Regions from separate parts of the Homo sapiens genome. Here all the other regions are linked to region 1. The links are contacts of gene promoters, found by promoter capture Hi-C in blood cells and fetal thymus (Javierre and others, 2016). All regions are on one chromosome and are shown on one strand. Each heading gives the region's core, a stretch centred on a gene start or on the middle of the fragment in contact. The rest is flanking DNA. Distances are from core to core; before and after follow the strand shown. Region 1 holds the start of TRANK1 (tetratricopeptide repeat and ankyrin repeat containing 1). Region 2 overlaps DCLK3 (doublecortin like kinase 3). Region 3 overlaps LOC105377642 (a long non-coding RNA gene).

Evidence for each region. Contacts are between HindIII fragments. The CHiCAGO score rates a contact against its expected background, and 5 or more counts as called.
Region 2: a contact is called between a fragment that was not itself captured here and the fragment with the promoter of TRANK1 in region 1, in 2 of 17 cell types (M0 macrophages and M2 macrophages). The highest score is 5.8, in M0 macrophages.
Region 3: a contact is called between a fragment that was not itself captured here and the fragment with the promoter of TRANK1 in region 1, in 1 of 17 cell types (neutrophils). The highest score is 5.2, in neutrophils.

Annotation. Positions count from the first base shown.
Region 1 is chr3:36,942,088-36,946,679 of GRCh38, forward strand. TRANK1 (tetratricopeptide repeat and ankyrin repeat containing 1) reads right to left here and starts at 2,967. Exons shown (of 24, transcript NM_001329998.2): 1 at 2,700-2,967. The coding sequence starts at 2,722. RefSeq lists a silencer at 2,615-2,834 and an enhancer at 3,065-3,134. The HindIII fragment of the contact is 7,723 bases long and covers 1,857-4,592 here.
Region 2 is chr3:36,722,521-36,727,111 of GRCh38, forward strand. All of the region lies in intron 2 of DCLK3 (doublecortin like kinase 3), which reads right to left. Among named protein-coding and RNA genes, the nearest start is that of DCLK3, 40 kb to the right of the region's middle. The HindIII fragment of the contact is 7,854 bases long and covers 1-4,591 here.
Region 3 is chr3:37,179,845-37,184,278 of GRCh38, forward strand. All of the region lies in intron 1 of LOC105377642 (a long non-coding RNA gene), which reads left to right. Among named protein-coding and RNA genes, the nearest start is that of LRRFIP2, 7.5 kb to the left of the region's middle. The HindIII fragment of the contact is 1,587 bases long and covers 1,522-3,108 here.

The DNA of each region.
Region 1 (4,592 bases), core at 1,717-4,216:
GGCTGCTAAAATAATCTTCATCCCCAAAAGCAAAGATAAAATAATGAGGGCATATACTATAGAAATGGGTCTTTGGTAGTAACTTCAGGAAAACAGAAGCAACCAGCAAATAGAAGTTTAATATTTCCACAAGGCCAGTCTCTATTTGGTTCCTGAGAGCCATGGACTGGGAAGTCAAGAGATAAGTTGTCTAATCCCAGATCTAACACTAACTCGTTGGTAATGACTAACAAGTGATGGCCTTTCTGGGCCTTAATTTCTTCATCTATAAAATGATCGTGGTCCAGCTCTTGATTGCAGCTGTGAAATTCTGAGACAAGACCCAAAGAATCCTTTTAGAAAACTATGAATCCAAGGCTGCAGTAGGGTTGCAGCATCTTCCCTTCTTCTTCCTCAAAAAAAAAAAAAAAAAAAAAAAAGAACAGGAGCTATTATGCCCCTACCTCCCTAGCATTTACACCAGGCCCCACTGGGATCCATGCAGGAGGCCAGCTCTCTGTGGACACATAGCCAGAACCAAAGTAACCAGAAGCATCTGCGGTCTGTCTTTGTAGATGGTACTGGCTTGAACCACACAGCCATGTCCTACAGTATTCTATCACTCAAGTATGAATTTCAGTCTACTTCATCACTCCTACACCAAGTCCTCACTTCCAAAGTCAACTCCCCTGTGAAATGCTGACGGTCTCCTCATACTCTGGGAGAGCGGCGGAAACAGAACCTGCAGTTGCCCCATAAAGCTGGTCAGTCGGTCATAAAGTGAAGTTAACAATTTATGACCCGCTTTAAAAAAAAAAAAAAAACATAGAATGGGCCGGCGTGGTGGCTCTGGCGTGTAATCCCAGCACTCTGGCAGGCAGAAGCGGGTGGATCACTTGAGATCAGGAGTTTGAGACCAGCATGGCCAACATGGCGAAACACCGTCTCCACTAAAAATACAAAAATTAGTCAGGCTTGGTGGCGCCCCACCCCCGGCCCCCCGTAATCCCAGCTATTTCGGAGGCTGCGGCAGGAGAATCGCTTGAACCCAGGAGGCGGAGGCTGCAGTGAGCCGAGATCGCCTCATTGCACTCCAGCCTGGGTGACAGAGCGAGAATCCCTCTGGTGGGGGGTGGGGGGAGGGAATAGAATGGAAAATATCATTGTGCCTCACCCTGTAGAAAGAATAACTATACCATGAAGCTCTTGCTGCAATTTTACATGTGTATGTGTGTGTGCGTATATATGTATATATAATATTACACACATATTATGCATATATACATTATATACATATAGGTGGGTGGGTGTGGGTCTTGATCGAAAAAAGACCTAGAAACCCATACATAGGCCAGTGGCAGTGGGATGCGACTCTGGGAGTGAATGCCACACACACCTATCCCACCTCTACCCACCCCCCCACCCCCCGCAGAGGATGCAAAAGCCAACAAAGAGCATATGAACTCAAGCACCTATCCTGCAATCCTACAAAACAGACCTGCCTGGAAAACAGTTGAAACAAACTCCTGACCACCGTCCCCGCCCTCCAACACACACACACCGTAGTACTTTTTTTTTTTTTCTATAAAGGACCAAACAGGATGCCATCCGGATAACAGCCTTATATCAAAAAGGATCCTGGAACCCAAAACGCTCAGCACGAGGGAGCAGGAGCGCATACCTACGCTGGGAACACAAGGCTTTAATCCCAGCTATTCCTTCCCGCATAAGGACTAACTGAGCCAGCAGCAACTGGGTTGGAGCAGATAGGGGAACTAGAGACCTCAGAGCCCCATTCTCTTTCTGCTTCTTAAATTTTTTTTTCTTTTATTTTCCAAATTGCACACTTCCATAAAAATTTTCCTAGGAAGCACCAAAGCTTTCAACTGCCCAGAAACACCCCGATCTGGGAGAAAAGGTGGCTTGAGCTGCACCTCAAAGATGGGCTCTATCTCAGCCGGGTTGCAAGTGCACAGGGCTCCCCGCGGGACGGAGACAGGGAGTTGGGAGGAAACGCAACGCGCCTCCCAGGCAACAGACTCCGAGCTCCGGTTCGGAAACGCTCCGAGGCAGAAGCAAGGGCTTCTAAGGGCTCCGCTTCCCAGCCTTGGGTCCCTACTACTACCTTCCCCCTAGACTCGGTGAGCCCAGGCTGATGGACCGTGCAGTCCAGTTTGAGCCAGCCCAGCAGCCCTCAATCGGGCGGGCAGGGAAGAAGGCCTCCTACTGCCGGGAAGAGGCCAGCGCGCTCCAAGTTCCCCGCAAATTCCGCCCTTCCCGCCTGGCACGGTTCCCTTGCACCGCTGTGCTCCGCTCCCAGGTTTCTGCCCGCCAAGAATGCTTGCCCCGGGGGCGCGCTCGCTGGTCAGGAACCTGTCGGCAGCCCCCGGGAACCCCTGAGGATGCGGAGGTGGGCCCGAGAGCTGCGGCTTCGATGCCGGGGTGGGAGCTAGGCAGGCCGCGCGCCGCCGCAGTCCTGTCGCAGCGCGTGCCCTGGTCCCTCCGGACCGAAAAGGCCGAAGCCGTCCCCCGCGACCGACCCCGCGCAACTGGCTCGGGTCTGCACCTAGATGGCTGTGGGCCCCACAGGGATGGCCGGGCGGGCCCGTTCGGCCGCTACCTCAGGGTCGCCAGTCCCCGCGCGCGGCCGCCTCCCGCCAGGAAGGGTGGCGGGCCCGGAAGGCCAGAGATGCCCCAGTGCTTCCCGCGCCGCTACGCACCTAGCTGCCCGCGGGTCCCACATGGCTGCGGCCGGAGGGTCCGCACCAGGACCGCCGCCGCCTGGGGAAGCGCTTCCCTGTGGGCAGGGCGCGGCGGGCAGTGCGGAAGCCCGAAAGCTACCGGAGCCCGGGGCAGGGGCGGCGCGATGCAGAGGCGGCGTTCGGGGGCCCCCAGCTGCCTGCGGCTCGGCTACCCAGCCGCGATCAGAGGGGGCGGGGGACGCAGGAACCCCGGCGTCCGGGCGGTGTGCAGCCGCAGACCTATTCCAAGTTTCCACGTAGTTGCGAGAGCCCAAAAACTGTCACGTGCACGTCGCTGCTGAGTGGGAGGAGGTGTTTGTCATCGCGTTCAAAAGGGGCGTTTCGGTGTCTCCCGTCATGCAAGCAAATGGTATGGCTCTCGGCCGCCTTTGAATAAACGAGTGCTTCGAACCCTTTACCAGGAGGGACTAGGCGCACAACCACCTCCGACACTCCTCGGGCATGCGAGAATTCGGCTTTCCTTAGTGGGGCCCATCAATGTTGTCCGGGAGGTAAAGAAAGTGATCGGCCAACGGCCTCAGCGTGGGTTTTCTCCTTCCCTCGTTCCTCCCTCCAACAAAGGACGTACGGAGAACAAGCCCCCTAGCTCCTACAGATGAGGAGCTCAGGAGTCGGGCGAATATCAAGTACTTACTGTGTGCTTGCCCCTCCACTCTGGGGAGGCTGGGGGTCCGGGAGTGAAGGGGGCAGCGAGACCGCGGGCTGCTCCACGCTCACCGTCGTGTCCATGGAGAGTAAGTGCGCACAGGCCTGAGCAGGCAACAAAATGAGGATCTTGCCTTGTCTTTCCACCTCCCCAGTGATGATCGACAGAGTAGTGGGTCGGAGAGGACCACCTCTGGCTGCTACCTCCCCAGCGGTTCTCGGCCTAGGGAGCCGGTTTGGTCTTCACAGCTTCTCTGGGCCTGGGAGTACTTTCCTACACACCAGAGAATCCACCCAATCAGAGAGCTAAGCCCGCCGCCCTCCCCTGGGGCAAGGTTCGGCCTACACTGCATCCCGGTGGTTCGCCCATCCTTCTGGGGGACCACCACACCAGGCTGCCTGGTGGCAGGGAGGACACCACCAGAGCTTTAGTGAGGGGGACCACACATTTCAGCGAAACAGAGAGGCTTTGGTAACACGTGGACACACCTAAGGCACACAGTATACTTCTCTCCACTGGTCATTCTGCGTTGTGAACTAGTCTCAGTCTAGCTAGTGGTCTCCTTGCTTCTAGAATCTCACAGAGATTTCTGTGCATTGATCTTCCCCAAACATCAGGATGAATCACGTACAGTTCAAAAGCCATCAGTGGCACTCCATTGTCTCCTAGAGATCAGGTTAGGTACCCGGGCATTTGAGATTCTTCTTCACAATCTTGCCCCACATTTCCAATCTTAGCTTCCTCATGCAAACTCTATACTGCAGTGCTTCCCAACCTTAGTTACACAATAGAATCACCTGGGGAGCTTAAAAACAAAAACAAGGCCGGGCGGGTGGCTCACACCCGTAATCCCAGCACTTTGGAAGCCTGAGGCAGGCGGATCACCTGAGGTCGGGAGTTTGAGACCAGCCAGACCAACATGGAGAAACCCCATCTCTACTAAAAATACAAAAAAAAAAAAAAAAACCCAAAAATATGCGTATGTTTGGCTTTTACTCCCAAATTGTCTAATTGACATGGGCGTCAGGAATTTTTGTTTTTGTTTTTGTTTTGAGACAGTCTCACTCTGTTGTTCAGGTGATTCTCCTGCCTCAGCCTCCTGAGTAACTGGGATTACAGGTGCCCGCCGCCTTGCCCGGCTGAATTTTTTAGATTTTTAGTAGAGGCGGGGTTTCACCATGTTAGACAGGCTGGTCTCAAACCCA
Region 2 (4,591 bases), core at 424-2,923, 220 kb before region 1:
GTTTGGCTGTGTCCCTACCCAAATCTCATCTTGAATTGTAACTCCCACAATTCCCACATGTTGTGAGGGGAACCCGGTGGGCAGTAATTGAATCATGGGAGTGGGTCTTTCCCATGCTGTTCTCATGATAGTGAATCAATCTCATGAGATCTGACAGTTTTAAAAATGGGAGTTTGCCTGCACAAGCTCTCTCTTTGCCTGATGCCATCCATGTAAGATGTGACTTGCTCCTCCTTGCCTTCCACCATAATTGTGGGAAGGCCTCCCCAGCCATGTGGAACCATAGTCCATTAAACTCCTTTTTTTCCTGGTCTCAGGTATGTCTTTATCAGCAGCATGAAAATGGACTAATACAGTAAACTGGTACCAGTAGAGTGGGGCACTGCTGGAAAGATACCCAAAAATGTGGAAGTGACTTTGGAACTTGGTAACAGGCAGAGACTGGTACAGTTTGGAGGGCTCAGAAGAAGACAGAAAAATGTGGGAAAGTTTGTAACTTCCTAGAGACTTGTTGAATGGCTTTGCCCAAAATGCTGATAGTGATATGGACAATAAAGTCCAGACTGAGGTGGTCTCAGATGGAAATGAGGAACTTGTTGGGAACTGGGACAAAGGTGACTCTTGCTACATTTTAGCAGAGACTGGTGGCATTTTGCCCCTGCCCTAGAGATTTATGGAACTTTGAACTTGAGAGAGATGATTTAGGATATCTGGTGGAAGAAATTTCTAAGCAGTAAAGCATTCAAGAGGTGACTTGGGTGCTGTTAAAGACATTCAGTTTTATAAGGGAAACAGAGCACAAAAGTTTGGAAAATTTGCAGCCTGACAATGCAATAGAAAAGAAAATCCCATTTTCCAAGGATAAATTAAAGCCGGCTGCAGAAATTTGCCTAAGTAATGAGGACCCAAATGTTAATCCCCAAGACAATGGGGAAAATGTCTCCAGGGCATGTCAGAGGTCTTCATGGCACCCCATCCTATCACAGGTGTAGAGACCTACAAGGAAAAAGTGGTTTTGTGGACTGGGCCCAGGATCCCCATGCTGTGTGCAGCCTAGGGACTTGGTACCCTGCCTCCCAGCCGCTCCAGCCATGGCTGAAAGGGGCAAACGTAGAGCTCGAGTTGTGGCTTCAGAGGAAGCAAGCCTTGGTCAATTCCAAGTGGTAGTGAGCCTGCCATTGCACAGAAGTCAAGAATTGGGGTTTAGGAACCTCTGCCAGATTTCAGAGGATGTATGCAAACGCCTGGATGTCCAGGCAAAAGTTTGCTGCAGGGGAGGGGTTCTCATGGAGACTCTCTGCTAGGGCAGTGCAGAAGGGAAATGTGGGGTCGGATCCCCCAAACAGAGTCCCTACTGGGGCACTGCCTAATGGAGCTGTGAGAAGAAGGCCACTGTCCTCCAGCCTTCAGAATGGTAGACCAATGACAACTTGTACCATGCACCTAGAAAAGCCACAGACTTTCAATGCCAGCCTGTGAAAGAAGCCAGGAGAGAGGCTGTACCCTGCAAAACCACAGGAGCGGAGCTGCCCAAGACCATGGGAACCCACCTCTTGCATTAGCGTGACCTGGATGTGAGACCTGGAGTCAAAAGAGATCATTTTGGAGCTTTAAGATTTGACTGCCCCGCTAGATTTCAGACTTTCATGGGGCCTGTGGCCCCTTTGTTTTGGCCAATTCCTCCCAGTTGAAATGGCTGTATTTACCCAACACCTGTACCCCGACTGTATCTAGGAAGTAACTAACTTGCTTTTGATTCTACAGGCTCACAGGAGGAAGGGACTTTACTTGTCTTGGATGAGACTTTGGACTGTGGACTCTTAAGTTAATGCTGAAATGAGTTAAGACTTTGGGGAACTATTGAGAAGACATGATTGGTTTTGAAATGTGAGGACATGAGATTTGGGAGGGGCCAGGGCAGAATGATATGGTTTGGCTGTGTCCCCACCCAAATCTCATCTTGAATTGTAACTCCCACAATTCCCACATGTTGTGGGAGGAACCCAGTAGGAGGTAATTGAATTATGGGGGCGGGTCTTTCCTGTGCTGTTCTCATGATAGCGAATCAGTCTCACGAGATCTGACAGTTTCAAAAATGGGAGTTTGCCTGCACAAGCTCTCTATTTGCCTGCTGCCATCCATGTAAGATATGACTTGCTCCTCCTTGCCTTCCACCATGATTGTGGGAAGGCCTCCCCAGCCATGTGGAACCATAAGTCTATTAAACCTCTTTTTCTTCCCAGTCTCAGGTATCTCTTTATCAGCAGCATAAAAACAGACTAATACATACCCACAAAAATTAAAAATTATGAAAAATGAGGAAGTAAACTAATAAGCAGGAGAGAGATGTTAAATACAGGCCCTCATTTGGAGGGGTGGGGGATTAAGAATCAAACAGGCCAGGAGTCTTTGAACAATTCCAACTCCAAGACTTGAGGCTGGATGGTCTTGGACAAATTTCTTTACTCATCTGAGCCTCTGTTTTCTCATTTGTTAAAAAAAAAAAAAAATGGGCCGGGCTCGGTGGCTCATGCCTGTAATCCCAGCACTTTGGGAGGCCAAGACGGGCGGATCATGAGGTCAGGAGATCAAGACCATCCTGGCTAACACGGTGAAACCCATCTCTACTAAAAATACAAAAAATTAGCCAGCCTGATGGCGGGCGCCTGTAGTCCCAGCTACTCTGAAGGCTGAGGCAGAAGAATAGCGTGAACCCAGGAGGCGGAGCTTGAAGTGAGCTGAGCTCGCGCCACTGCACTCCAGCCTGGGCGACAGAGCGAGACTCCGTCTCAAAAAAAAAAAAAACGGGGGGTGGGGCAGGTGCAGTGGCTTACATCTGTAATCCCAGCTCTTTGGGAGGCCAAGGTGGAAGGATCACTTGAGGCCAGGAGTTCAAGACCAGCCTGGGCAACACGAGGAGACCCCACCTCTACAAATAGTAAAAATATTAGCCAGGCATGGTGGTGCATGCCTGTGGTCCCAGCTACTTGGGAGGCTGAGGTAGGAGGATCACTAGAGCCTGAGAAGTCGAGGCTGCAGTGTGCCATGATTGCACCACTGCACTCCATCCTGAGCAACAGAGTAAGACCCTGTCTCAAAATAAAAGAGGGGAGAATGGGAGTGACAGTTTCCAGCAAATAGGCTTATGTCACAAGTTTCATTCAATGTCTGTAATCTGCCTAGCAAAGTAATAGCTCTAGAGTGACCAAAAGGCCCAGTTTGCCTTGGACCTCCACCAGGTTTTAGAAAAGGGTAGAATTGGTCAATTTTTAAAATAGAGAAAAGGCACACTCACCTTCACTCTGAATGAATACAGAATCTCAAATGCTCCTTCCTTTTTCCCATTCAAAACTTATCCCACCTGTCTCACTCTTTCAAACAAGTCCAAGTGACTGGCTTTCTCATCTCTGGTAAGCCAAATCCCATTGCCAAGTTAGTATGTCCTGTCCTCCTCCCCCAACAAGGGATTTGATACAAGATTATGACTGTTGGATCTTAACCTAAAAGAAACTAATCACAAGAGGTAAGTGTGGCAAGTATTTAGGTCACTATGCTAGAAAAAATAAAACTAAATTTCACATGAAAAACCAAACCATGAGGGCGCAAACCCAGCATATCTTGCAGCAAGTAAAAGATGCATCGGTGCCGCCTGCCATTAAATAAGTTTTCCAGTTTGAGGGAAGGTTAAATAATCAGACACAAGTCAATACTCCAGCCTCCTTCCAAACTAGCTTGTACCCACACACGTAAGGCCCTGTTTCTCATGGTAGAAGCTGATTGCTCAGACCAAAGGTGAACTAAGCAGTTAATTAGACCACTGTGTGAAAACTTACTAGAATAAATTTGGGCAATCTTATCCAAGCAGGAGACTCATTAGTGCCACCACAGCTGTAGGAGAAATTATCAACTTGTCTGCAGGCATACACCCTCACATCTCTCCTGGAACTGGGGCAAAGGCTCTCAATGCTCCTACCAGTGCCTGGACAGGTGGGCAGTAGAGGAACTCTGCCTCTCCCTGGGACCCATCACAGCCATGGGCAACACCTAGAATGGCAGGGTGGAGCGGCCTTTCCCCTGTCTCTCCAGACCAGAATAAATTCTCCCCACTTGCTTTGGTTTCTGCCAGTGAGCTTACATCTCCATAAGCAGCATGTGTCTTAATTGCTGAGCCCCAGTCACCACCAGACAATCTAATCAATGTCTCCATAATTAACCTCACCAAATGGAAAGTCATAAATTTAGAACTAAAATGAAATTCTGCTCAGTCTGCATATAGAAACTGACATAGCCCAAAAGGAGACAACAGGGTAATTACCAGAATAATTTAAGAAAACCTTGTTTGGAAGGGAAGGAAAACAAAATAATGTGATACCAAAATGACCAGATGGATCATATACATTAATCGTAGTTGCTGGGTGACTGCTGGAAAAATATGTCTCTCACAAATATTTATAAATTAGTGGCATAAAAGCATTTGGCTGACTGGCCAGGCACAGTGGCTCATGTAATCCCAGTACTTTGGGAGGCTTAGGCATGTGGATCACTTGAGGTCAGGAGTTTGAGACCAGCCCGGCCAACATGGTGAAACCCC
Region 3 (4,434 bases), core at 1,065-3,564, 240 kb after region 1:
TGGTTAGTGTGCAAAATCTCACTTATGGCTAATTCTGGTTCTACATGGATTCTCCTACCCAGGGCACTCACCCTTTACTCCACCAGAGAATAAACAGGGAAAAAATGAAGGCTAAATTACTTTGTTCAATCTTAGTCTTGAGGAAAGGTTGATGAAAGGGGAAAATTTGGGACTTTGTGTAGGTATCAATTATGTTATGAGCACCTAATCACTGATTATCAAGTGACGGTTTTTCTGCATTATGTACTTACTATAAATGAGTAAAAAACATCCTTCATATTATAGCTTATTTAACAAACTATTATTTATCTGCTGTGTATCAGCAGATAAATCAAGCACCCAATTAGGTACTTGACACAGGGACAAAACAATCTCTGCTCTTAAGGAGCTAGAATTCCAGAGTTTCTGTTGATATATATTTTTTTAATGTTAAGCTCTCACTATGTGCTAGATAATTTGCAAATGCTAGACATCCGACGGGAAGCAAAAACAAAAATGTTTCTTTTTCTTATGAAACTGGTAAGTTAGACAATCTCACAAAAGTACCTTTAAAATCTAACAGGTATTACAAAGGGTAGGTATGTGCTGCCATGAGGGCATAAAAGCATTGGGACTTGACCTAACCTGAGGTATCAGAAATGCCTTCTCCTGGGAATAGATGTTTCAAGCCGAGATTTAAAAGTGCCTCAGAGTATAAACTACATGCAGAGGTGGGGGAAAGCAAGAAAGCACAAATAGACCTCATGATAGAAGCAACAGAGTCCCAGGGACTGAAATGAGAGAATGTGAGATGAGTCTGGAGAGTTAAGGGTCCACCATTCAGGGTCTTAGAGGCTGTGGTAAAGATTCTAATCTTTGTTCCGAAATCTGCAAACCAATCGAGTTTTTAGTGAGAGCAACATGATCAGATTTGTATTTTCAAAAGACCACTCTGACTTCAATGTTAAGAATTCATTCATGCATAGTGTCATGCACCTGTGGTCCCAGCTACTCGGGAGGCTGAGGCACAAGAATCGCTTGAACCGGGGAGGCGTAGGCTGCAGTGAGTCGAGATCATGGCACTGCACTCCAGCCTGGGCCACAGAGTAAGACTTTGCTTCAAAAAAGAAAAATTTTTTAAAAAGAATTCATTTTTGGCCAGGTGTGGTAGCTCACAACTGTAAGCCCAGCACTTTGGGAGGCCAAGGTGAGAGGATTGCTTGCGCCCAGGAGTTTGAGACCAGCCTAAGCAATATAGTGGGACCCCATCTCTACAAAATATAAAAAAATGAAAACATTAGCCAAGTGTGGTGGTGCGCACCTGTAGTCTCAGCTACTCATTCTTTAAATAAATGCATCCTGAAGGCCTGCTATAGACCAAATCCTACTCTGCACACAGAGCACACGGCAGTGGACAACAGACAAATTCCCTATCTGTGAGGATCTTACATACAATATACAAATCATAAATAAGATAATAGTGCTGTAAGAATATTGGAACAGGGTGAGAATGAAAGGGTAGGGTGGAGTTGCTATTTTATAAGCTTGAATCCTATGAAATTACTGATTTTTAAAAATAATTTTTGACCTGAGAATGACATTACACCTTAGGTTTGAATGGTTCAATCCAGTTGTGTGACATTAGGGTCATATGGTTCAACTTAATACTTGGAAGAGTCAGAACTAATGAGGTGATCGAAAGAAAGAGAAGCAAGCCATGTAAATACCTGGGAGAAGAGCATTTGAAGCAAAGGAACAGCAAGTGCAAAGGCCCTAAAACAAAAATGTGCCTGCCATGTTTAAGGAGCAGTAACAAGGCTGAAGAGTAAAGGACAAGTGGGAAGAATGGTAACAGAGGCCAGATCATACTGGTGACCATGGTAACAAATTGGCTTTTCTCCTTTTTTTTTTCCCCCTTAAGACAGGGTCTCACTTTGTCACTCAGGCTGGAGTGCAATGGCGTGCTCATAGCTCACTGCAGTCCTGAACTTCTGGGCTCAAGTGATCTTCCTGCCTTAGCTTCCTTAGTAACTGGGACTACAGGCATCCAGCACCACGCCCAGCTAAGTTTTTTTTTTTAAGAGATGGTATTTCATTATGTTGCCCAGGCTGGTCTTAAACTCCCGCCCGCAAGTGATCCTCCCACCTCAGCCTCCTAAAGTCTTCCAAAATGCTGGGATTACAGACGTGAGCTATCACGCCCAGCCTGGTTTTTCCTCTTTGAGTAAGCTAAGCCGTGGGAGGGTTTTGAGCAGAGGAACTACACATCTGCCATTATTTAAAGGAGTATTCTGTTAATGGTAGAATATAAGTGGTGGATGCAGAAGTGATTGCTGTAAAATTCTTTCAACTTTGCTGTGTGTTTGAAATTTTTCCTAATAAAATAATAGTTTAAACTGGTTATTGTGAATAGACTTTAGGGGAGCAAAGGTGAGAGCAGGAAGACCAGTTAGGCTATAACAATAATTCAGGTAGCAGTGGAAGTGGTAGGAAGTGGTTGGGAGCAGATGTGGTGTTTGAATTACAAGTCAGTAATTCAGAGGAAATACCAGGTAGGAAATACAAATGTATGAATCCACCTAAAGATTAGGAAAACAAGGACAAATGTCTTGAGAATTAAAAGAAAATGCTCAGAAGTGTACCCTAAAGCCTCTTACTCATGCTTTTGTTCTAGGCTGGTTTTGGTTGTAGATAGTTATCAGTTATTATATACTGCCATTCAGATTATTTATATGTATTACTGTCCACAACTCACTTGTGTTCTAAAGGGTTTTTTTTAATAATGTTCTTGTCTTCCCAAGCAGATTACATGCTTTTTGAGAAAAGATCTATTTTTTTGTATACACCCCGCAATGCCATATTCCTAGAAGGCATTTTCAATGTTCACAGAATAAAAATATTTGAATACAGAGCTTTTCATGTCTTTTGTTTTTATAAAACATCAATTTTCTTATAAATGTTTAATTTAGACACTTCTGAAAATGAAGGTAGAGTTAGAATTTTCAATCTGTTGCAACTTATGCCCATTTCAGGTCAGACAAATAAAGAGAGAGCCTTCTGGGGGGTAAAAAAAAAAAAAAAAAAAGGCCCAGGTTTGTGCCTGTAGTAGTAATGTCAGCTACCTCAGGAAGCTTGAGCCCAGGAGTCCAAGGCTTATATGGCACCACAATTGTGCCTGTGAATAGCCACTGCACTCCAGCCTGGGCAACACAGCAAGATCCTGTTTCTTTTAAAAACAAAACAAAACAAAAAAAACCCCAATCAGCTTTTCTCCATATTGGCTTATACTCAGACTTCATCATGTGGCAACAAGACAGTTCTCAAAAACTTTAGTTCTATATTCACTCCAGTCCAAGTCCAGCAAGAGATCCCTTCCAGTAGCTCCTAGATTCACTGAACCAATTACCTTGCTACAGTAATTTGTTAAAGGATAGAGAGTTACCTTCCCATCCTTTAACAAATTACTGTAGCAAGGAAAACTCTTGTGCTATGATTAGCCAAATTTGAGTCATATGCTTTACCTCTGGTCCACCCAAAGATCATGGACTATAGGAGAGGAGTGGTTCCCGGAAGAACAAAATGGAGTACTGTCACCAAAATATAGAAATGGATACTGATGGTGAAAACACAATGCTTACTACACCAACTAACTCAAAGGCCTATGCATTGTTTCTTCCTTAAGCTTTTGAAAGAAGTTAGTCACTGCCATGGCACTCACTTTGAATCTCTTCCAATTCCACACACAATACTGCATTTTTTCCCCTGAATCATCAGGCAGTCATATATTCAGTTGCCATTGAAAAGTAAATGCATGATTATGAAAGTTAACCAGCTGGAAGGGTCAGTATTTCAGTACATCACTTTTCAGGACACTCCCAACTGGTATTGCAGGTAGTTTCTTGTCCTTAAAATTCTTTCCTGTTGTCAAGCTACCTGAAACGTATTTGTCCTCGATACCCTAGGGGCAGGGTGGCTGATAACTAAGGTGCCTGGGAAACACTTCAGAAGCAAGTGACAATGAATTGGCTTAAGAAGCCAATTCATCTTTTAGATGGATATTTATACTGTAGAATCTTGAAAGGAAAATTTATCTACAGATATGTCTGTTTTCAGTTTCTTTTCCTTTTTGCACTAACAAGTTATTTTCCCCACATGACGTTTAATCTACCTTACAAAACATTTTTAACATTTTAGTTCAAAATTTGCTTCAGAAAATGGATGACTTTGGTGTGAAACGATTGTTGACTCTATTATTCTAGAATTTGGGATGGCGCCTCTAGTTTGCTGCTTCCTTGGACACCAAACATAACATTCTCTGTTCTAGGACGTGCTTCAAGTCGGTCATGAGACTGGCAGAAAATCAAACCAAACTAAATGAATGGTTGTTGAAGTTAATCTCCCATCCTGGAGCTGTGCATGCCATGGAGTAGCCAGCTTTTAACAGGCACAATCCTG